Linked DNA regions of Homo sapiens: all the other regions are linked to region 6. Evidence: promoter capture Hi-C in 16 types of primary human blood cells and fetal thymus (Javierre and others, 2016). All regions are on one chromosome and are shown on one strand. Each heading gives the region's core, a stretch centred on a gene start or on the middle of the fragment in contact. The rest is flanking DNA. Distances are from core to core; before and after follow the strand shown. Region 1 has its middle 6.6 kb from the start of MEGF9. Region 2 overlaps PSMD5 (proteasome 26S subunit, non-ATPase 5). Region 3 overlaps MEGF9 (multiple EGF like domains 9). Region 4 overlaps B3GALT9 (beta-1,3-galactosyltransferase 9). Region 5 holds the start of STOM (stomatin). Region 6 holds the start of CNTRL (centriolin).

Region 1 (3,724 bases), core at 1,185-3,684, 350 kb before region 6:
GCTTTGGGAGTGAGAAAAGAAGGTATAATGATATGATACATAGGGCTCAGCAAAATAACTTCATCTCCCAGATTCCAATAAAACACAGACACCTTTCCCCTTTCTGGTTTCATTGAAACAGCAATGCTGACATGGACTATTTCTAATCCTGCTGGAGGCTGGCCTCCTATCAGATGTGGCTAAATGCAAGGTTTGGCATCTTCTGCAGACAACTGTAGGATTACTGGGGCCACTGTTCACAAAGTCGGCCCAGCAAAGGACACTAACAGACAAGCCACAGAAAGGAATACAAATGACTAAAAAATATGAAATACTGCATATGCAACTTGAGTAATTAAAGCATTGCAAGTTGAGATAAGGAGTTGCCATTTTTTTAACCTATTGATTTGGCAAAAATTTTTACAAACTGGTAATACTTGTTATGGTCTCTCACTGTTGATAGAAATATAAAGTGATACAACCTTTCCAGAAAGCCTTAAAAGTGTTTATACTCTTTGACCCATTATTTCCACTTTTTTTTTTTTTTTTTGAGACGGAGTCTCACTCTTTTTGCCCAGGCTGGAGGGCAATGGCATGATCTTGGCTCACCGCACTCTCTACCTCCCGGGTTCAAGCGATTCTCCTGCCTCAGCCTCTCAATTAGCTGAGATTACAGGCATGTGCCACCATGCCCAGCAAATTTGGTATTTTTAGTAGAGATGGGGTTTCTCCATGTTGGTCAGGCTGGTCTCGAATTCCCGACCTCAGGTGATCTGCCTGCCTCGGGCTCCCAAAGTGCTGGGATTACAGGCGTGAGCCACTGCACCCGGCTCATTATTTCTACTTTTAATAATCTAGCCAAAGGCCAGGCACAGGAGATCATGCCTGTGATCCCAACACTTTGGGAGGCTTAGGTGGGCAGATCACTTGAGCCCAGGAGTTCAAGACCAGCCTGGGCAACATGGTGAAACCCCGTCTCTACTAAAAAAAAAAAAAAAATTACTAAAAATTAGCATGGTGGTATGCAGCTGTAGTCCCAGCTACCTGGGAGGCTGAGGTGGGAGATCACCTGAGCTTGGGAAGTCGAGGCTGCAGTGAGCCATGATCATGCCACTGTACTCCAGCCTGGGCAACAGAGTAAGACCCTGTCCCAAAAAGAGAAAAAAAAAAGAATCTATCCAAAGGAAATAAATAATCAGATGTAAATATGTATGTACAAAAATGTTCACCAGAGTGTTATATAATTACAAAAATTAGAAAAATCTAAACAGTTAACAAAGGATTAGTTGAGTACTTTGTGCTGTATGATGTTTCTATGTAGAAACACTATACATCTATAAAAAATGATACTCACCTGCCTAGCACTGCCTGCCCAACACTGCCCACCCAGTGCCTGTCCCCAGACTATGGCCCAGCCCCCTTTGCCCTTGTCCATCAAAGGTGCCGCCAGCATGTCTGACAAACTGCCCTACAAAGTTGCTGACATCGGCCTGGCCACCTGGGGACACAAGGCCCTAGACATTGTGGAGAATGGATGCCGGGTTTGATGGGCATGCAGGAGCTTTACTCGGCCTCCAGGCCACTGAAGGGTGCCTGCATTGCTGACTGCCTGCAAATAACTGTGGAGACGGCCATCCTCATTGAGACCCTTTTCTCCCTGGGTGTTCAGGAGCAGTGGTCTAGCTGCAGCATCTTCTCCACCCAGGAACATGCAGTGGCTGTCTTTGCCGAGGCTGGCATGCCAGTGTTCACCTGGAAGGGCAAAATGAAAGAGGGGTACCCGTGGTGCATTGAACAGACACTGTACTTCAAGGACGGGCCCCTCAACATGATTCTGGATGATGGGGGTGACCTTACCAACCTCATCCACACCAAGTACGTACCCACAGCTCATGTCGGGCATCTGAGGCATCTCTGAGGAGACCAAAACCGGGGTCCACAACCTACACAAGATGATGGCCAGTGCAATCCTGAAGGTGCCTACCATCAACGTCAATGACTCCGTCACCAAGAGCAAAATTTGACAACCTCTATGGCTGCCAGGAGTCCCTTATAGATGGCACCAAGTGGACCAAGACGTGATGATTGCCAGCAAGGTAGCAGTGGTAGCAGGCTATGGTGGTGTGGGCAAGGGCTGTGCCCAGGCCTTGCAGGGTTTTGGGGCCTGCATAATCATCACCGAGACTGACCCCATCAGTGCACTGCAGGCTGCCATGGAAGGCTATGAGGTGACCACCATGGACGAGGCCTGTCAGGAGGGCAACATCTTTGTCACCACCACAACCTGTGTCAATATCATCCTTGGCCGGCACTTTGAGCAGATGAAGGATGATGCCATCTTATGTAATACTGAACAATTTGACGTGGAGATCGATGTCAGGTGCCTCAACAACAATGCTGTGGAGAAGGCAAACATCAAGCCCAGGCGGACTGGTACTGGCTGAAGAATGGGTGCCACATCATCGTGCTGGCTGAGGGTTGGCTGGTCAACCTGGGCTGTGCTATGGGCCGCCCCAGCTTTGTGGGGAGTAACTCCTTCAACCAGGTGATGGTGCAGATTGCGCTGTGGACCCACCCAGACAAGTACCCCATTGGGGTTCACTTCCTGCCCAAGAAGCTGGATGAGGCAGTGGCTGAGGCGCCCCCCTGGGCAAGATGAACGTGAAATTGACCAAGCTAACTGAGAAGCAAGCCCAGTAGCTGAGCACGTCCCGTGATGGCCCCTTCAAGCCGGATCACTACTGCTGCTGAGAGTCAGGCCTGCCCTTCACTTTCCAGCTGCTGTCCTTGCTCAGGCCCCGCCTCTTCTCCCTAAGAGCAAATGGCACCAACTTTGTGATTGGTTGGTTAGTGTCCCCCATCGATGGGGCTGGTCACTCAGTTTTTGGCCTCTGCTGCATCCCTAACACTATATCAAGTGTGGCGGGGAAATTGAGAGGCCCCTCCTCAAGCCCTGGTCATGATGGAGGTACAAGGGAGGCATCCACAAGGAACCATGAGTTGAGTGGTCTTGGAACTGCTCACTAAGTCAGTCCTTCCTTTTTTTTTTTTTTTTTTTTGGTATTTTTGGTAGAGACGGGGTTTCACCATGTGGGCCAGGATGGTCTCGATCTCTTGCCCTCATGCCTCGGCCTCCCAAAGTGCTGGGATTACAGGCATGAGCCACTGGCGCCCAGTCAGTCCTTCCTTAGTTTGGAAGTTGGTAGTGGAGTCACAAAGCCCATGTACCTTACCATTCAGGTAAGGTTCCTGGTCTGTGGACTTATACCGTGTTCCTGGTCTGTGGACTTATACCCGTGGTTTACAGGTTCAGTGGTTCCCCAGCCCATGACAGATGAGAAGGAGCTATATTGAAAGGCAAAGAGGAACTGTTGTTTGAATTTTCCTGAGAGCCTGGCTTAGGGCTGGGCCTTCTCTTAAACCTCATAACAATGAGGTTGGTACTTTTAGTCCCTGTTTTACAGGGGTCAGAATAGACTGTAAAGGGATAACTGAGAAAGGACAGAGAAGTGACAGCCAGAGGGGCTATAAAAACATAAAAGCAAGCATAGATCTGCTACTACTTTGTAACAAGATGGTTCCTATCACAACCCTGGTTCAAAAAGAGAATAATATGGTTTTAATGTTAAAAGAAAGCAGGAAGGTGGGTAAATAAAAATCTTGGTGCCTGAAAAAAAAAAAAAAAAAAAAAGATGATACTCAAGCACAGTGGCTCATGCCTATAATCCTGACACTTTGGGAGGCC
Region 2 (3,392 bases), core at 237-2,736, 260 kb before region 6:
AAAAATCAACATCATGAATGAGATTAAAACAAAGGTCATTTTAAGAGAATATTTCTCAGGCCAGGAAAGACCTGGTTATAGCCTAATTAGTAGTGATATTAACAGTAGGGGACTAGTCAGCATGGAAACACACACAAAAAACAGAGTCACGTTGCCAGGGGAGATGATCAATCTGGGGACTAGATAATTCCAGTCACTTTAAAATAATTTTGTTACAAAGCAGGGGTGGTTTATCAACTTCACCACGGCCTAAAAGAAATATGCTCATGCATAAACCTCTGAACAGGTGATTTGGTGTGCAGAGTGCTTTGGCTTTGCTGTTTAGAGAGAAGAACACTGGAAAACAGGTGGGTGTAGGTGTTGTCAATGAAAAGAAAGATTATCCTTTGTAAATTAATGAGATGGTATCCTGATTTATGCATATGTCCCTTCTGTTCTGAGTCTGTTTATTAGGAGTAAGTTTCCCTTTCTCTGATCAACTCAAGATTGACTTTATAGGTATGAAAAATCCAAAGCAAAACCCTCAGCAATCATGACCTACCAATAAATGAAATGACAGTTTAGGAATCCTTCTGATCCCCCAAAACCACAACAGGGCAAAGTTCATTGGTAAACAGCAAAAAAAATTACATGAACACTATAAACATTTTTTAGATATTTTGTCTTTTTTTCAAAGGAATAATAGTAACAAAAAAACAAGAGAGCTCATAAAAAGTATTCTGAGTATAAGGAACATAATCTTAATATTCCATACTACTCATTTTTCAAAGAATATATCCAAGACTTTGAAAGTGGAATCAGAAATGGAAAAAGGACCAAAAAGAAAAAAAAAGATAGTGAAGAGAATCCAGAAATAATTTGGTGGCAGGTTTTTATTTTATTCATTTATTTTTGAGACAGAGTCTTGCTGTGTTGCCCAGGCTGGTGTGCAGTGGCAAGATCTCAGCTCACTGCAACCTCTGCCTCCCAGGCTCAAGCGATTCTCGTGCCTCAGCCTCCTGAGTAGCTGAGATTATAGGTGTGCGCCACCATGCCTGGCTGATTTTATATTTTTAGTAGAGACAGGGTTTTGCCATATTGGCCAGGCTGGTCTTGAACTCCTAGACTCAAGTGATTTGCCCATCTTGGCCTCCCAAAGTGCTGGGAATTATAGGTGTTAGCCACCGCGCCCAGCCCTGAAGCAGGCTTTTAGATAAGATTGCATGTCCATGAAAATTTTGAGGGAAGAAAAAAACTTCCACCCTGTTGCAAAGATTAAGGCAGTGAAAGGAATCTGAAAAACACTGGATCTATTATGACCAAGCTTGTCTGCTCTTAATGCATTCCAAACTCCTAGTTCCACTTTGCATTTCAATGTAGAAATATAACAGTGTTGGTAACAAAGTAACATCTGACATTCCATGATAATTCTTGGGGAAAGGAAGTCTCTTTTGTGAAATATAGATGGAGTCAAATGCCTTAGGAGAAGTTTTGGTCAAAACGTGGTCCTCTACATGAGCTCTAGAAGAAATCATTCGGCTCCTTCTACTGCTGTCGTGGAAACAGGTTTCACATAGTATGGCCCTTCACTCAGGTAAGTTCTGAGCCTCAAATAATTTGGGTTCCCAAAGATTTCTGCAATTGTCTTGGAATTGGCAAGTGCTTTCACTAGTTCATATTTGGCATCCTTTGAAGCTTTGTCATGCTCCACAGACCGGTCCACCACATATTCTACAAAACCTGGACTGTTAAACATAAGTTTCTGAGCCCAGGGTTGGTTTGCAATGGCCTGAAATGGAAGGCAGAAAGAATACAATTCCCCTGAGTGGAAGTTGTTTGTTAATGGGATGGCACAATATTTACAAAGAAATCTGGCAACATGAACTTTAAAAATGTTACCTTTTGTCTAAGTAAATTCCTTCCTGAGAATCTAACTTAATAAAATAATCTTAAATATGAAAAATCTTTGTATACAAAAATGTTCATAATAGTGTGAAAGTTACAATATAAATATCTAATAATGGGAGAATGGTTAAGTAAATTATGGTATATAGCAATAAAAATAAACATTAACAATAATGTTTACAAAAAATAGGAAATGATACAGGTAAACCTGTTATATAAAAAAAGCAGATTCAAATTATAAACAATGCATGATTACAACAGTGGAAAAATAAAAACTAAAGTAGAAAAGACTAACCTCAAGATACTCATATAGTGCACAAACATTTTCAAGAATGTTCATTGTGGTATCATTTGTAAGATACTATCTAAATCTTCATTTATAGGAGAATGATATATTGTGGCTATTCAATGAAATACCAACTTTCTAACTGCCTCTTTTAACATAGACAAATTTTAAAAAAACGTAACATTGAAGAGAAAAAAAAAAAAAGCAAAAACTGCAATTACTTTTGCACCAACCTAATGGAATGATACAAACAGCATGATACCACTTACAAAGTTTATGAATATCTAAAATACTGTGTTTTATTTAAGGATACACACAATATGTAGTAGAAATATGAAATCATTTATGGGCCCTGACTTTGTGATAGTGATTTTATCTAAGAACAGAGGAAGGGGAATAGGACTGGGCAGAGGTAGCAAGATACAACTATATTTGAAATATTTCACCAAAAATAAACACACACTAATACAAAAACTAAAAGGAAATACACCAAAAGGTAGAACTTTCTGTGATTTTAAAAAATTCTACTTCTAAGTCTTTTCCAAATTTTAAGATTAAGTTTTTCAAAACCTATTACGTTTTAATGAAAAAGAAGTAACAAGTTTATGGCCTAGTTTTTTCCTCTCAAAATGTGTTCCACAGACAAGTAGCATCAGCAACACCTGCGAGCTTGTTAGACTTTCAGGATCCCAGGCTCTGCCCCACAACTACTGAATTAGAATCTACATTTTAATAAGATTCCTAAGATTAATGTTTGAGAAACTTTGGCCTGCTTCACAACCAAGCATGAAAGTAGGCAGAAATAAAAATAGTTATCCCAACCAGTAAATAGAAAATTATTTCTACAATGGAACCAGCTAAGCACAGGATAAGGTAGAAGAGCAAAACCAAAATAAACTAATAATGAAAATACTAAGCAGGATCCAAAATGGCCATCTCATACAATGACCATTTACAAGGGTGAAGCAGTCTTAAAGAAATGTTTCTGGCTAGGCGCGGTGGCTCACGCCTGTAATCCCAGCACTCTGGGAGGCCGAGGCGGGCGGATCACAAGGTCAGGAGATCGAGACCATCCTGGCTAACACAGTGAAACCCCGTCTCTACTAGAAATACAAAAAGAAATTAGTCGGGCATGGTGGTGGGCGCCCGTAGGCTAGCTGCTCGGGAGGCTGAGGCAGGAGAATGGCGTGAACCCGGGAGGTGGTGCTTGCAGTGAGCCAAG
Region 3 (3,912 bases), core at 1,344-3,843, 400 kb before region 6:
ACTTTTTATTGGACCATATTTTATGTTTTAGGTCTGAAGAAAAGGAATCTCAGAAAAGCCTCATTGTAGGGAAAAGGAATTATCAACACAAGAGTTTTTGTTTTGAGAGTCTTACTCTAGAGTAACATTAATACTCAATTTACATTTCACATTTATGTTATGCCAAGGTATTGCCACAAATCTTTGAAAACTTGGGAAACTTAATATTAAAGCTGATGAATTTCTTTAAACTAGACTTTGTAGAGATGTGTAGTATTAAAGCCACTACTTTTAAAGAAAAGCTTTAAGTTTTGTTTGAAAATAAAAATGTATCAATTAAAATTCCCAGTCACAATTTACTAGAGCAAAACATTTCTTCAACTTTAGGGTAGCCATATGAAATAAATGGGGCAACATAACCCAGGTTTTGTAGAAAATTTTCTGTCTCACATTTAAAAATCATGTTGTTAGTGCTTGTCCCTGGCTCACTGCCAGTTTTCCACAATTCAGAGATAATTCATCTAATTAATGAGACAAGATGACAAGTTCTGGAAAAGGTTGTAAAGGCTAGTTTTTACTACTAATAACAATGATGATATTACCAGCTATTAAGCATATACTATACATATATCAGACATCACACAAGAAACTGGACACAAATGGCCTCCTTTAGTGTTCACCATAATCCTGTGATGCAGGTACCTTAAGCAAGGAATCTGAGTATCAGATAGATGAAACAAATCATACAACTAATCAGTACCAAAGAAGAGACTGAAGCCCAAAATGAGTAACTCCAAAGTCCATGTCTTTTCACTTTAAGAAGCCAACAATCAGACAGACCCAGAACACTTTAAAATCAAACTTTGCTGCTAATTAACCAGCTCTAGGACTGTTAGTGAGTCTAACTGCTCTGAGTTTCAGTGTCTCCATGTACAAAATGTGGCTAATTCTTTTCATCTATCATGAAAAATAATTAAAGGTCAAATTATATATGGCCATGTATATTGTTTTTGGTTTACAAAAACTTTTTTTTAATTGACCCACTGGTATATCTAATAATCTGAATAAGTAAATCAGAAGGCAATTTCCTTTGAAAATTTAGAATGTATATACTATGTTTTAAGGGAAAATCACAGGTTTTAAATTGCTCAATGATGGCAAATTTTCTCATATTTCTCCACATTTCTCATAGTGGCTTAGCACAGTACTGATCAGTAAATAGCTATAAATGTCTGTTCAAATCAGATTCCATTTTATAAAATAAAATTAGAGCTGGTCAATTTAAAAGACAAAGATCTTCAAGATTCAATGAAAACCCACAAAATCCAGCTACAAACAGTTTACAAAAGACATAAAACAGAATTATACCTAAAGGTTAAAAGTAACTGAATGGAAAAAAGATGAAGCACGTAAATACTAGCCAAAAGAAAACTAGTACAGCTAGCTACATTAATTAATATGAGACAAAATAGATGTTTAGGCAAAAAAAAAAAGCAATATAAGCAGATAAGAGGTCTGGTCACTACATAAAAAAATGTACAATTCATTAAAAATATGTAGTTCTAAATTAGATATATATCTAATACCATAGTCTCAAAATACATAAGGCAAAATGACAGCAAATATATTTAATATGGTTATTTCTGAGGATGAAATGAGATAAAAATGTGACAGTATCAGAATAGGATATTTACTGTTTTATCTCCCCAGATGTCCTACTTTTCTTAAAATGTAGAAAATGCTCTCAGAAATTGATATCAGAAACGAGATATGACAATAAATGCTCTAAAATAAGGGATTGGGGAAGATTAGGAATTAGAGTTGGTTAAACTACAGCTTTTTACAATTTTCTGGCAGAAGGGACCTTCTTTTAATCCAGAATTGGAATAATTCAACAAGTTTCCTGAAGTCATAAAAAAGGTAGAAGAAAGAGAGAAGTCTAGTCTAGATTATAGAAAAATATTTACTATACAGGATCATGTACTCAAATACTTTACTCATTAGCATTCTAAACACCCTTATTCTCTAAATCTCACTCTGTCACCCAGGCTAGAGTGCCATGGCACACTCCCAGCTCACTGCAACCTCCGCTTCCTGGATTCAAGCGATTCTCCTGTCTCAGCCTCCCGAGTAGCTGGGACTACAGGCATACACCACTATGCCTGGCTAATTTTTGTATTTTTAGTAGAGACCGGGTTTCACCATGTTGGTCAGGCTGGTCTCAAACTCCTGACCTCAAATGATCTGCCCACCTCAGCCTCCTAAAGTGCTGGGATTACAGGCATGAGCCACCGTGCCCGGCCTCTAAAAGTTCTTTGTACCTTCCACTATGTATCCTCTACCGTGTTCCTAGAGCATTGTTAGAGAAAGTTACAATATAAAGACCTAGTGTGTTAAAGGTTTTACTTTCACTAAGTCCCTAGAACTGCTTCTAAATCCTTAGATTTATCTTACTGTTTCAATATCCATTGCCAGCATTGGCTATTCCAAGCTTCTCTTTAAGTCTTCCATCCCACTGTACAACCAGCAAATGGTTGCAACTTCATGGAAACTGAGACCTTCTTTTTCTCTCTTCCTGCTTTTTCCCATCAATTTAACCTTCCCTCCAGTTTCAGGCTAGCCAGCTCCTTCCAAGACCAAACAATCCCTCCAACTGCGCTCTTTATCACATCCTCTCCCAGAGCTCTTTCCAGGACTCTACTCTGCCCACTCCCATTGTCCCCCTACTTGAGCCTTTTCAAGCTTTCACTCTTTACAGAATTTACCTTCAAATATGCATTGGGTCTCTCACAATTCTCTGTTTAGTCTCCTGTTCCATTTAACTAGCATTTATTTTCTAAATAAAATTTCTCAAACAAAAATACAGACTGCCTCCTTTTCTTCACCACGTTTTCTTCTTAATGCTCTGCAATCTTTTCTAAACTCTACTAAAAATGCTCTCTCAAAAGTTACTAACCCAAAACAAAACAATAGCCTTCTCAGGCCATATTCTGCTTAACTATTTTGCAGCATGTGACATACTGATACCCCTTCCTCTTTGAAACTCTTTCTTTGGTCTCCACGTCATTGGATAAATCCATGAGCATTTACTGAGGATTTTACTATGATCAAGTCCTCTCCTTATGCTTCCACTTCCACATGGCAGATCATTTTGGTTCCCAATGAATCCAGGGAGAGACAAGTCTCAGCTACTCCAGTCATCCCCATCAAGGCCCCAAACATATGGGTGAGGCCATTTTTAGATCCTCCAGCTGTAGCCAATCTACCAATACAGCCAGAGTAAGCCCAAGAGAGACCAGGAGAAGAACCATCAGAATGAGAAATAAATCATTGTTATTGTTTTCAGACACTAATATGAAGAATGAAGGAGAAGACATCACTACGGGGAATATTATGCATAACTCTATGCACATAAATTCAACAACTTTGATGAAATGGACCAATCTCTTGGAAACCAAGCTATCAAAACCTAATTCAGATTACCTTAATGGTCCTATACCTATTAAAGAAATAGAATTTATAGTTTAAAACCTTCCAAAAGAGAAATCTCCAGGCCCAGATGGCGTCACTGGAGAATTCTACTAAGCATTTTAATAAGAAATAACATCAATTCTATAAAATGTCTTCCAGATAACAGAAGAGGTACGAATCCTTTCCAATTAATTCTATAAGGACAGCATTATTTTGACATCAAAACCAGATAAAAACATTACAAGAAAACTACAGAACAATATTCCTTGTGAACATCTTGGATCAAAAACCTCTCAACAAAATAACCAGTAATATATAAACAACAAATTGAACCCAGCAATATATAAAAAGATTAAGTGGGATTTATTCCAGAAATACTGGTTTGACACTTGAAAACTAATCAGTGCAATCCATCCTGTTAGCAGACTAAAGAAAAATGCCATCTCATCTCAACTGATGCAA
Region 4 (3,474 bases), core at 720-3,219, 270 kb before region 6:
GTGTCCTTTCCTTTTTTAGGTGACTTTCTGCAGACTTCGGACTCACCAGTGGTGTTTCATTCTATTTAATGTCATCCTATTTCATGCCTTGCTTTTTGGGACTGACTTTGTGGAGGAATACTTTCTGCATTCTTTGCCTTATATAGATGTGAAAGTTCTTGAAATTAAGAATAAGGCAAGAAAATTGAACATCGAACCCCTAAGAAGTAATCTCTCCAAATATTATGTCCTGAGCCAGTCAGAAATATGTAAAGGGAAGAACATTTTTTTGCTGTCTCTTATCTTCAGTAGCCCAGGAAATGGAACAAGACGGGACCTCATTAGGAAAACTTGGGGCAATGTGACCAGTGTCCAAGGGCATCCCATTCTCACACTGTTTGCTCTGGGAATGCCTGTTTCGGTAACTACCCAGAAAGAGATCAACAAAGAATCCTGTAAGAATAATGATATAATTGAAGGAATCTTCTTGGACAGTTCTGAGAACCAAACCCTGAAGATCATTGCAATGATACAGTGGGCTGTGGCTTTCTGCCCTAATGCCCTGTTCATTCTCAAGGTGGATGAAGAGACGTTTGTCAATCTACCAAGCTTGGTAGACTATCTTCTCAATCTGAAAGAACACCTAGAAGATATCTATGTAGGAAGAGTTCTTCATCAGGTTACACCCAATAGAGATCCTCAGAACAGAGACTTTGTCCCTCTTAGTGAGTACCCAGAAAAATACTACCCAGATTACTGCAGTGGTGAGGCCTTTATAATGTCCCAAGATGTGGCTCGAATGATGTATGTGGTTTTCAAAGAAGTACCCATGATGGTGCCAGCTGATGTGTTTGTAGGAATTTGTGCTAAGTTCATTGGCCTTATACCCATCCACAGCTCAAGGTTTTCTGGGAAAAGGCACATTAGATACAACAGATGTTGCTATAAGTTCATTTTTACATCCTCAGAAATTGCAGATCCTGAAATGCCCCTAGCATGGAAGGAAATTAATGATGGAAAAGAATGTACACTGTTTGAGACATCCTATGAGCTCATTTCCTGCAAACTTCTGACGTACCTTGACAGCTTTAAACGTTTTCACATGGGGACCATAAAAAACAATCTCATGTATTTTGCTGATTAGGATTTCTTTAATTTTCCTTATGAGTCTACTATTTTAAAGTTACCTTCTACCCTGTTATGGAAAGCATCCCTTCTTTCCCATGTTTTATGTAGGTTCTCTGAATCTTTAATTTTATTTGCAAAGGTACAAAATGTTTTCTGTGCTCTGGTGTGCTCAATTACTGAGATCTCAAATTTTTAAAAAATTTAAGTTGGTGTAGCATAATTCTTTTCAAAATGAAATATTTCTCTCAAAAGAGAGAACATTATGTTTCATTGTTTATTTAGTTTTCGTTTTTTTTTTTTCTTTTGAGACAGGGTCTGGCTCTGTCACCCAGGCTGGAGTGCAGTGGCGCAATCTCGACTCACTGCAACCTCCACCGCCTGGGCTCAAGGGATCCTCCCACCTCAGCCTTTTGAGTAGCTGAGACTATAGGCATGTGCCACCATACCCGGCTAATTTTTTTTTTTTTTTTTCGGAGACAGAGTCTTGCTCTGTCGCCCAGGCTGGAGTGCAATGGCACCATCTCTGTTCACTGCAACCTCTGCCTCCCAGGTTAAAGCAATTCTCCTGCCTCAGCCTCCCAAGTAGCTGGGATTACAGGTGCCTGCCACCACGCCTGGCTAATTTTTGGTATTTTTAGTAGAGGCGGGGTTTCACCATGTTGGCCAGGCTGGTCTCGAACTCCTGGCCTCAAGTGATCCACCCGCCTGGGCCTCCCAAAGTGCTGGGATTACAGGTGTGAGCCACCACGCCTGGCCTAATTTTTGTATTTTTTTATAGAGATGGGGGTTTCATGATGTTGCCCACGCTGGTCTTGAACTCCTGGGCTCAAGTGATCCTCCCACCTCAGCCTCCCAAAGTCCCAAAGTGTTGGGATTATAGGTGTGAGGAACCGTACCTGGCCAGTACACAATTCATTATAACTAAGTTTTTTTTTTTATAAACTGACTAGTAAAAATTATGTATATTTATGTTGTACAACATGTTTTGATATATGTATATGTTATAGAATGGCTAAATCAAGCTATTTAACACATGCATCACCTGACATACTTTTTTGTAGTGAGAACACTTAAAATCTACTCTACTAACAATTATCAGATATTGATATATTGCTGTTAATTGTCATGACCATGATGTATGATAGAGCTCTTGAACTTATTCCTCATGTCTAACAAAAATGTTGGATCTCTTGGCCATATCTGCCAAGTTTTCCCAACCCCCAGTCTCTGGTAACCTCCATTTACTCTCTGTTTCTATGAATTTGAGTTTTTTTACACTCCACATATAAGTGAGCTCATGTGCTTATTTGTCCTTCAATGCCTGGTTTATTTCATGTAACATAATGCACTCCAGGTTCATCCATGTTGTTGGAAATGACAGGATTTCTTTCATTTATAAGGCTGAATAGCATTTTATTGTGGATATATACCACATTTTCTTTATTCATGCACTGGTGGACACTTAGATAGATGCCACTAATCTTGTGAATAATGCTGCATTGAATGTGGGGAGTGCAGATATCTCTTTAACATACTGATTTAATATCTTTTGGATATATTTCCAGTAGCGGAATTGCTAGATTGTGTGGCAGTTCTATTTTTAATTTTGTGAGGAACCTCCATAATGGCTGTATTATTGGTTTACCATAATGGCTCATTGTGGTTTTACTTTGCATTTCCCTGATGATTAGTGGTATTGAGCATTTTTTTTTCATATACCTGTTGGCCATTTGTACTTCTTCTTTTGAGAAATGTCTATTTAGGGCCTTTGGTCATTTCTAAGTCAGGTTATTTGGGCAGGGCACAGTGGCTCATGGCTGTAATCCCAGCACTTTGGGAGGCCAAGGCAGGTGGGTCACCTGAGATGGGAATTCAAGAGCAGCCTGGCCAACAGGGTGAAACCCCGCCTCTACTAAACATACAAAAAATTAGCTGGACCCGGTGGTACGTGCCTGTAATCCCAGCTACGCGGGAGGCTGACACAGGAAAATCGCTTGAATCCAGGAGGTGGAGGTTGCAGTGAGCCGAGATCATGCCACTGCACTCCAGCCTGGGCAACAGTCTGAGACTCTATCTCAAAAAACAAAATAAAATAAAATAAATAAAGTGATTTGCTTTCATGCTATTGTGTTGTTTGAGTCCCTTATCTATTTGGATATTAACCCCAGAACAGATATATGGCTTGCAAATATTTTCTCCCATTCCATAGCTTATCTCTTCACTGATTGCTGCTTTTGATATGCACAAGCTTTATAGTTTGGTATTATCTCATTTGTCTATTTTAGCTTTTGTTGCCTATACTTAAGGGGTCATAGCCAAGAAAATCTTCGCCCAGACCAATGTCATGGAGCTTCCCCCACCTATGTT
Region 5 (3,743 bases), core at 207-2,706, 300 kb after region 6:
GCTGGGCATGGTGGTGCACGCCTGTAATCCCAGCTACTTGGGAGGATGAGGCAGGAGAATCACTTGAACTCGGGAGGCGGAGGTTGCAGTGAGCGGAGATCACACTCCAGCCTGGGCAAGAAAAGCGAAACTCCGTCTCAAAAAAAAAAAAAAAAGTGATACGGAGCCTGACCTATTTAGTTTCAATTTTTGTTGTTGTGGTTGCCATTATTCTCATCAACTCCTCCCTGTTACACTCTCCATTTGGGAAGATAACCTGCAACGTTATTAGTAGACAAAAAGTGAGGAATAAAGATTTCTGTAATTCCTTTGATGCTCCTGGGAAGGAACTGAACACAGGGATCCCTGGACAAGGGAAATGGAACTTATAGCTAAGATGCTGTGGATAAAGCTGGCTTTACAAATAATCAGAATAGATGACTCCAATGTCATGTTCTTTGAGGGGTCCTGGAAAGGACCACCCAGCCCTCTAAATTGCTTTCACTGCCATCCTGCCTGAAATTCCATCTTTAGAAACACTGTAATTCCTCTGGATCACTAAGAGCTCCTGAGTGGGTACCAGGACTCCTGAGAGGTCCACCATCTCTCTTTATTGGAACCCCCTCCCCAGAGTACCAGTTCCTCCACAGGGGAACGAGACTGAGCCACTTACAGCTCCTGCCTTGAAGACTGGGAAGGGAGGGTGGGGGTGAGGGTGGGAGAACTCAGGGTTCCTGGCGAGGAACAAAAGCCGGGAAGGAGAGTTCTCCAAAACGCAGAGGAAAGCGGAGGGGGAAAAATGGGGCAGAAAGTGGAGCTAGAAAGAGAGGTAAGAAGAAAGCCAGAGAGACTTCTTCCTTCTGCAAATCGGTCTAAGTTTCGGGAGGTGGGATTGGGGGAGGAGGGGGTTCACCCTGGGGCCAGGCCAGGGCTGGGTGGAGGAGGCGGCCTTCGAGAGAGTGAGTCGGGAAAGAAGGGGAGTGGGCAAAGGGTGAGATGTGGGGTCCCGGTCCCCGCCTCGCTGGCTGCCAGTTCCCTCTGCGTTTCCTAGTCCGCGTGCGTGACACGAGATAGTGCAGCCCTGGCATGGGGCTTGGCATCTGGCGGCCGCGAGATAACCAGGGCCCGTGCGATGGGAAACGTGCCGTTGGCAGCCCGCCACCCCTCCATCGTGACCTCAGTCTGCCAAACAGGGTTCGTGATGCTCAGTTTACTAGGGAGGAGCCGCGGCTTTGAGATCTCGCCCAGCCCGAAGCAGCGGAGACTGGCCAGGAGCCCGGCTGTCAGACCTCGGAGCGCACGCTGCGGGCGGGGGCTCGGTCCACGGGGGAGGGTCAGGGGACGCGGGACTCACCCTTGAAGGAGTCGGGGAGCCGCTGGGCTTCGGAGTCCCGTGTGTGCCGCTTCTCGGCCATGCTGCCCGAGACGCAGTCGCACTCCCCCGTCCTCGTTGCCAAACCCGGAGCCGCCGGGAATGCCCTGAGGAGCCAGAGGCACAAGACCCAGATTGCCGCCCCGCCCCCAATCGAGGTCCCGCCCTCGTGAGAGTTGGCCAATCAACGCCCAGGATCGAGGAGGACCCACCTCCCAATCCCCGCCCTCCTGTCCCTCCACGGCGCGACTGCTTCGCAGTCACTTCCCGCTAGTTCTGTGGGCTGAGGGGCGTGGCCTGAGGGGCGTGGCCTGAGGGGCGAGAGCCCCCAAGGCTGTGGGTATGAGGCCGGGGCCCTGCACCGGAAGGGAGGGCGGAAGCCACGGGACGTGGAGCAGATGGTGAGGATAGTGGGGAGGTAGCAGCAGAGGATGACCCGAGGCAAAAGTGCAAGTGAAGAAAAGTCGCCTTGCCGGGCAGAGGTACGGGACCAAGGCGCCTCCTCTGGGCTGAGGAGTTAGAGGGAAGAAAATGGCGCCCTGTCATGAGGGCGCGAGGTCCGAGTTGAGGGGAGAAGACTGAGGGACACAGAAGTGGCCGAAGTGAGGGCGCTGAGGTCAGCCTGAGCTGAGAGGGCCGGCAGATCACGCCGCAGCCGAAGTGAACGAACTCGAGTGAGGTGTGTTAAGAAAATCAAAATGTATAAATTTGGAAAAGGAGAGGAGGCCGGGCGCGGTGGCTCACGCCTGTAATCCCAGCACGTTGGAAGGCCGAGGCGGGTAGATCATCTGAGGTTAGAAGTTCGAGACCAGCTTGGCCAACATGGTGAAACCCCGTCTCTGCTAAAAATACAAAAATTAGCCGGGCGTGTGGCGCGCGCCTGTAATCCCAGCTACTTGGGAGGCTGAGGCAGGAGAATCGCTTGAACTTGGGAGGCAGAGGTTGCAGTGAGCCGAGATGGCCTGGGTGACAGAGCGAGACTCCGTCTCAAAAAAACAAAACAAAAAACAAAAAAACAGGAGAGGAGACTTTATTTCTTGTAAGGGGTTACAGCCTGCAAGGTGGCCATTCCGCAGGCTGGAGAATGGCCAGGACCAGAGACAGGCATTTCGTTGGAGGAGGGGTTGGAGTAGCGGCTTTATGCTGAACAGCTTGGGTAGACATGCATATTCAGCAGGTGACAGGAGGAGCTATGAATATTCATGAGGGTGGTCCTGACGCATGCCCATTGAGCAAACATGCATGTAACATACAACCCATGTTCATTTTGGAGTGAAGAGTTACCAATTAAATGTTAAATGCCTGGCCTGCATGGTGACGTCCCCATCTCTACAAAAAGTAAAAAAAAAATAGCCAGGTGGGGTGGTGTGTGCTTGCGGTCCCAACTAGTCAGGAGGCTGGGGCAGGAGGATCACTTGAGCCCAAGAGTTGGAGGCTGCAGTGATGTATGATCAGATCACTGCACTCCAGCCTGATGGACTCTAAAAAATAATAACAATACATGTATTACAGTTAGACCCCATGCGTCAAAAGGTCTTTTCAGGACAGGAAGGTGTGCAAGTATGCAGTCTGTGTAAACTAGCCAGAGCCAGTCCATGGTCGGTAGTTTTCCTATGAGGAGAAAGTTACTGAAATCAGCCTCTTGTCCAATTAAAGCTGTAATGATGGCTGGTGGAATAGGGGTTCCATTAGGCCACATCTGGTGGAGCTGCAAATTGTTTTAATATTGCTTATCTCGAGGCCAGTGCTTGTTAAGCTGCTAGAGAAAGAGAACAACCTTGTGGCAGTTAGAACACAGTTTATTCTCTAAGTGAAGGGATGTGTGCCTTAACCTTTGCCTGGCATGACCTTAGGTATAATTTGTTTATAATTTGGTATCTTATTGTCACAAACAGTCTGTTCTGTCAGTCTTATGATCTGTGTTTTAACGTTAATGCTGGTCAGCTGTTGTGTCTAAACTCCAATACGATGAAGTTATAATGAGGCGAGTCTGACCTTCTGTCCTGTCATTGGCTGGGAACTCAGTTTTAAAGTTTTCTGGAGTCCCCTTGGCCACAAGGGAGTCCATTCAGTCGGTGGGGTCATTTATTCAAACAAAATCTTCTTGGAGCATCTTCCATGTGGCAGGGAGTGTGCTAAGGGCCTCGTGGAGTTTACCTTATACTCTAGTTGGGAGATGGGCCACAAACAAGTAATTGAATCATTACACATGGTGAAGGAAGCTGTGAAAGGAGTGGAATATTCGGAGAACAGCAAAGGTTAGGACAGGGGAACACCTCTGTAAGGAAGGGGCTTTGAGATGTCGCCTGAGAAATGAGAAGGAGCCAGCCTGGGGAAGGGGAATAAGCGGTGCAGGAGGTGGGAAAGGGTATCCCAGGTAGAGGGAAAAGCA
Region 6 (3,921 bases), core at 791-3,290:
GTGTCGTGTAAATAGTTGGGGAGAGGACAGCACCATTCACTTAAATGTCAATGGGAATCACATTTAAGTAAAAGGAAAAGGAAATCAGTAAATCAAAGTAAATCAAAGACACATCTGCATCCCCATGTTTATTGCAGCTTATTCCCTGTTGGACGTCCCCTGAATTTCCTATAGAGGTGAAGCCATCTCTGCCTTAAGGAAAAATGAAGTGCCTAATACTGCTTATAATATGGTCCCTTTTCCAGATTTAGCTTCTCCACCCCAGATTTTTGCACAAGCCATACTGAACTACTTCATGTTTCCATACTCATGTTTTGTTCCAGCCACACTGAATTACTTAACATTCAGCACATTGCCAAGCTCTTTTCCCCCGCTTCCGGGGTTTGCACAAGTTGTTCCCTTTGCCAAGCAAATTCTTCCCCACCTCCCTACTCCTTGCCTAAACTCTTCTTTTGGGCGTAGAAAGAAGTATTGCTTCTGGGTAACCTTTGTCTAATAATGAAATATCTAAGACATATTGAGAACTTACTATGGGTCCCTCACTGTTCTAAGTTCTTTCACAGAGATTCACTTTTATAATTATCAGGAAAACTGGACTTTTTTTTTTTTTTTTTTTTTTTGAGATGGAGTCTCGCTCTGTCGTCCAGGCTGGAGTGCAGTGGCGCGATCTCGGCTCACTGCAACCTCCGCCTCCCGGGTTCAAGCGATCCTCCTGCAGCCTCTCAAGCAGCTGGGATGACAAGCGTGCGCCACCACGCCCGGGTAATTTTTGTATTTTTAGTAGAGACGGCGTTTCACCTTGTTGGCCAGGCTGATCTTGAATTCCTGACCTCAAGTGATCCTCCCACCTTGGTCTCCCAAAGTGCTGGGATTACAGGCATGAGCCACAGCGCCCGGCCAGGATTCACTTTTATAATTATCAGGAAAACTGTAGGAAGTGTTAATAGGTAAAAGGACCTCATTTCATAGATAAGGAAACTGAGACACAGAGAGAGAGGGAGTTTCTAAAAGTGTTATACAGGTGGCCTATAAACTCTGTAGTGAAGAAAGGAAATGAAGACAGGATAGAATGATCGCGAGAAAATGGTAAGAACAAGGGACTGGAAGACGCAAGGAAGTTTAGAAATACGCTGGCATAGGGGTCTTTTGAGCAGGCACGCTGCTAAGATGATAGGATTATAGTCAAGGATGGGGAGCGATTGCACTGGGGATTTCTGGAGCGGGTGCAGCCTCTGATGGTAACATGGTCCAGGGTATACCTTCAAAACGGGAGGCTACTGGAGTGAAAGGCGTCAATGGTGATAACACTTTAAAAAAAACTTCAGTGTTTCCCTAGCATCCAGCCCAGTATCTGCTAAATTCTTTAAAATATCTGTTGAATGCATGTCGTGAACGCCGTGCTCATGGGCAAGCCCCAGATGAAGCCTGTGCAAGTGCTTCTTGCTTTAACTCCCTTGTAGCAATCAGAGGAACATCCTCTGCCTAGGATTCCCAAGCTCCCTGAACCTCACGCGACAGCTGGAGCCCAGGCTGCGTCCGCTTTGAGGTTCATCCGAGCCTGGGCAGTTCGGTCCCTGGAGGGAATTCGCTTTAGATACGACTGTCAGAGAGAAGTGTGCTGATAAGAACACTCGCTCATAGCGCGCAAGCATCAGAAGTGGGGGAGGCCGGGGAGGCGCTGCGCCGGTGCCTCAGGCCGTCCTCGGACACAGGCCCTGAGAAGCGTGTCCGTGTTTCAGAGGGTGGCGGCGGCAGCTTTGTCTCAGCGAAGGCCACAGCACTGCGGGCAGCTGCCGCATGAAACCTCGGCTCCCCCTGACTCTGCACCCGACACTTCACCTGCAACGCAATCCGAAGGCGAAGGCACCGCATCCCGTCGGCCCCGCGCGGCCGGAAGCCTCGCGCCCAAGACTCCCCGGCATCCTAGCGCGCTGGCTGCAAAAGAGGCGGGAAACGCCTCCGCGTCCCTTCCAACAGTACCGGAGAGGGAGAGGGGCGTGGCTGAGACTAGCCCCGACCACGCGCGCGCGGCCCCTCGGCAACCGGCACAACACAACAAAATGGCTGCCGCGCCGCTGGGCCCCTGAGGAAAGAGCCCGAACTTCTCCCGCTCTACCTCAGCCTGCGGGACTGCTCGGCTCGGCTTCTAGGCGGTGAGCGTCAGACCTGGCCGAGCCCGTTCCCCGGCATCCGGCCCGAGCAGTGGGGGCCGGCGGCAAAGGCGGGAAGGCCCGGACCGGGCGTGGTGTGGGCCGGCTTGGGATGGATTCGGGGCGGGGGCGCGTGTCTGGGAATTGGGATTGGACGGGAAAGAGGGGAGGGCCCGGAACGGGCGTGGGGCGGTGGATGAAGGAGGGAGGTTTGGATGGGAAGAGGTGGGGACGGCGGGGGCGATTGGGGATGAAGAACCAGAGTGTGGGGAGGTGTGGAAGTTAGGGTGCGGCGCCCAGAAGGTTGTGGGTCCTGCCACCTGAGCTGAGGGGAGAGCTGGGATGTGCCAGCTGTCTGTGGGGAGTGAGCGGGAGAAAGGACAGTTTGGGCGTCCTGACGGGTTGTCACGGTATCGGACGGAGTACAGTGCGTGGAGAAAGATGACAGGATATGGGGACGAAATGCTAAAAGAAGGGGAAGAACAAACACTTCCGTTATATTCGTTAAGGGACTAGAGAATTTTGAAGCCAGACAAACTTGGGTTGAAGCCTCAATTCTGCCACCTTGTGTAACTTAACCAGGTCTGTGACCCTGGATATGTGTCTGAGCCTTCCTGATCATGTTTCCTCATTTGTCCAAATAATTGCGAATCATTTTTGGGTGTTCACTATTTGTCAGATCCAGTTTTAAGCACTTTGCACGTATTAACCTCATTTAGAATTTAAAATAACTTGTATGAGGTTATCATCCCCATTTAAAAAGTGATAGCACTGAGGACCAGAGAGGTTAAGTAATTTGCCTAAGATCACACAGTAAGTGGAAAATCAGAATTTGAACTCAGGCTGTTTCGTTCCAGAATCCAAGCTTTTAACTGTTCAGGTACATTGCCATTTGTAAATCAGGTTAATAATTCTGATCCTATACAGCTAAATCTTTGAGGATTTAAATTTGGTATTGTCTAAGTGTTTAGTACAGTCCTTCAGTCAACAAATATTTATTGTTTATAGAACAACAGACAAAACCTCTGCTCTCTTGTAGCTTATAGTCTAGAAGGAGAAACAGGCAACAACCAAGTAGTTTCACAAATAATGGTTATAAAATGCTATGAAGGAGACTGCTTGGTGCAGAGATCATGGGTAATAGGGAGATAAAATCTTCTGCATCTTGAGCTTAGATTCTAGCATGGTTCTTCCTACATAAAAGTTGCTCAATAAAATTGAATAATTAATGGAAAGAGATGGGAAGCTTGAGTTTTAGGGTATCTGAGCAGAAGAAGAGAGATGGGAGAGGGGATTCAGGCTTTTAATAGGATGGAGAAGGATACGGGGGCTAGAGTATTAGGATGGAAAGGCAAATAGGCAGGCAGTTGGGTTGGGATGAAGAGGAATGGATGGAGGTTTGAGTATTTTGTTTAGGGAGGGGAGTAATTGGAGGTCAGAGTATTGGAACGCATTAGGATGTCAGGGTATTTTCTGGGGTGAAGAGAGATGAGCAGCTTGGGAAGTCTGGATGGATAGAGAAATGTTGAGTCTGGGCACAGGAAAGAACCATAGAGAAATGGGGGAGACTATTACTGTGTTAGGGAACTGGGATAGAATTTGTGGGAAAATTGGCAATCAGAATGGGATAAAGAAGAATGGGAGGCAGAGGTGGGTGGGCAGCACAGAATGGGGGAATTGGCTTTGGAAAGAAAAATGGCTGGAGACTTTGCAGAGGAATCGGAATCAGGATATTTGAAAGGAGGAGAAGATTAAGGAGTAAAAGTATTTC

The links. Contacts are between HindIII fragments. The CHiCAGO score rates a contact against its expected background, and 5 or more counts as called.
Region 1: a fragment that was not itself captured here is called in contact with the fragment with the promoter of CNTRL in region 6 in 15 of 17 cell types (naive CD8 T cells, naive CD4 T cells, non-activated CD4 T cells and 12 more); the score reaches 23.8 in naive CD8 T cells.
Region 2: a fragment that was not itself captured here is called in contact with the fragment with the promoter of CNTRL in region 6 in 9 of 17 cell types (non-activated CD4 T cells, total CD4 T cells, total CD8 T cells and 6 more); the score reaches 18.7 in non-activated CD4 T cells.
Region 3: a fragment that was not itself captured here is called in contact with the fragment with the promoter of CNTRL in region 6 in 8 of 17 cell types (naive CD4 T cells, monocytes, neutrophils and 5 more); the score reaches 10.6 in naive CD4 T cells.
Region 4: a contact is called between a fragment that was not itself captured here and the fragment with the promoter of CNTRL in region 6, in 13 of 17 cell types (naive CD8 T cells, total CD8 T cells, non-activated CD4 T cells and 10 more). The highest score is 20.6, in naive CD8 T cells.
Region 5: a contact is called between the fragment with the promoter of STOM here and the fragment with the promoter of CNTRL in region 6, in 8 of 17 cell types (total B cells, activated CD4 T cells, naive CD4 T cells and 5 more). The highest score is 8.3, in total B cells.

The regions. Positions count from the first base shown.
Region 1 is chr9:120,719,243-120,722,966 of GRCh38, forward strand. It overlaps the pseudogene AHCYP2. Among named protein-coding and RNA genes, the nearest start is that of MEGF9, 6.6 kb to the left of the region's middle. The HindIII fragment of the contact is 4,871 bases long and covers 1-3,724 here.
Region 2 is chr9:120,816,396-120,819,787 of GRCh38, forward strand. It overlaps PSMD5 (proteasome 26S subunit, non-ATPase 5), which reads right to left. Exons shown (of 10, transcript NM_005047.4): 10 at 1-1,768. The coding sequence ends at 1,511. Among named protein-coding and RNA genes, the nearest start is that of B3GALT9, 25 kb to the left of the region's middle. The HindIII fragment of the contact is 371 bases long and covers 1,302-1,672 here.
Region 3 is chr9:120,668,115-120,672,026 of GRCh38, forward strand. The region is part of intron 1 of MEGF9 (multiple EGF like domains 9); the gene reads right to left. Among named protein-coding and RNA genes, the nearest start is that of MEGF9, 44 kb to the right of the region's middle. The HindIII fragment of the contact is 251 bases long and covers 2,469-2,719 here.
Region 4 is chr9:120,798,556-120,802,029 of GRCh38, forward strand. It overlaps B3GALT9 (beta-1,3-galactosyltransferase 9), which reads left to right. Exons shown (of 3, transcript NM_001386823.1): 3 at 20-3,232. The coding sequence ends at 1,123. Among named protein-coding and RNA genes, the nearest start is that of B3GALT9, 6.8 kb to the left of the region's middle. The HindIII fragment of the contact is 2,767 bases long and covers 587-3,353 here.
Region 5 is chr9:121,368,794-121,372,536 of GRCh38, forward strand. STOM (stomatin) reads right to left here and starts at 1,457. Exons shown (of 7, transcript NM_004099.6): 1 at 1,334-1,457. The coding sequence starts at 1,394. It overlaps LOC102723324 (a long non-coding RNA gene), which reads left to right and starts at 1,100. Exons shown (of 7, transcript NR_187160.1): 1 at 1,100-1,173. RefSeq lists enhancers at 1,462-2,422, 1,882-1,971. The HindIII fragment of the contact is 8,041 bases long and covers 1-3,743 here.
Region 6 is chr9:121,072,915-121,076,835 of GRCh38, forward strand. It overlaps CNTRL (centriolin), which reads left to right and starts at 2,041. Exons shown (of 44, transcript NM_007018.6): 1 at 2,041-2,153. It also overlaps a transcript of C5 not described here. RefSeq lists silencers at 1,305-1,501, 2,126-2,185, 2,306-2,445 and an enhancer at 1,616-2,005. The HindIII fragment of the contact is 4,047 bases long and covers 1-3,013 here.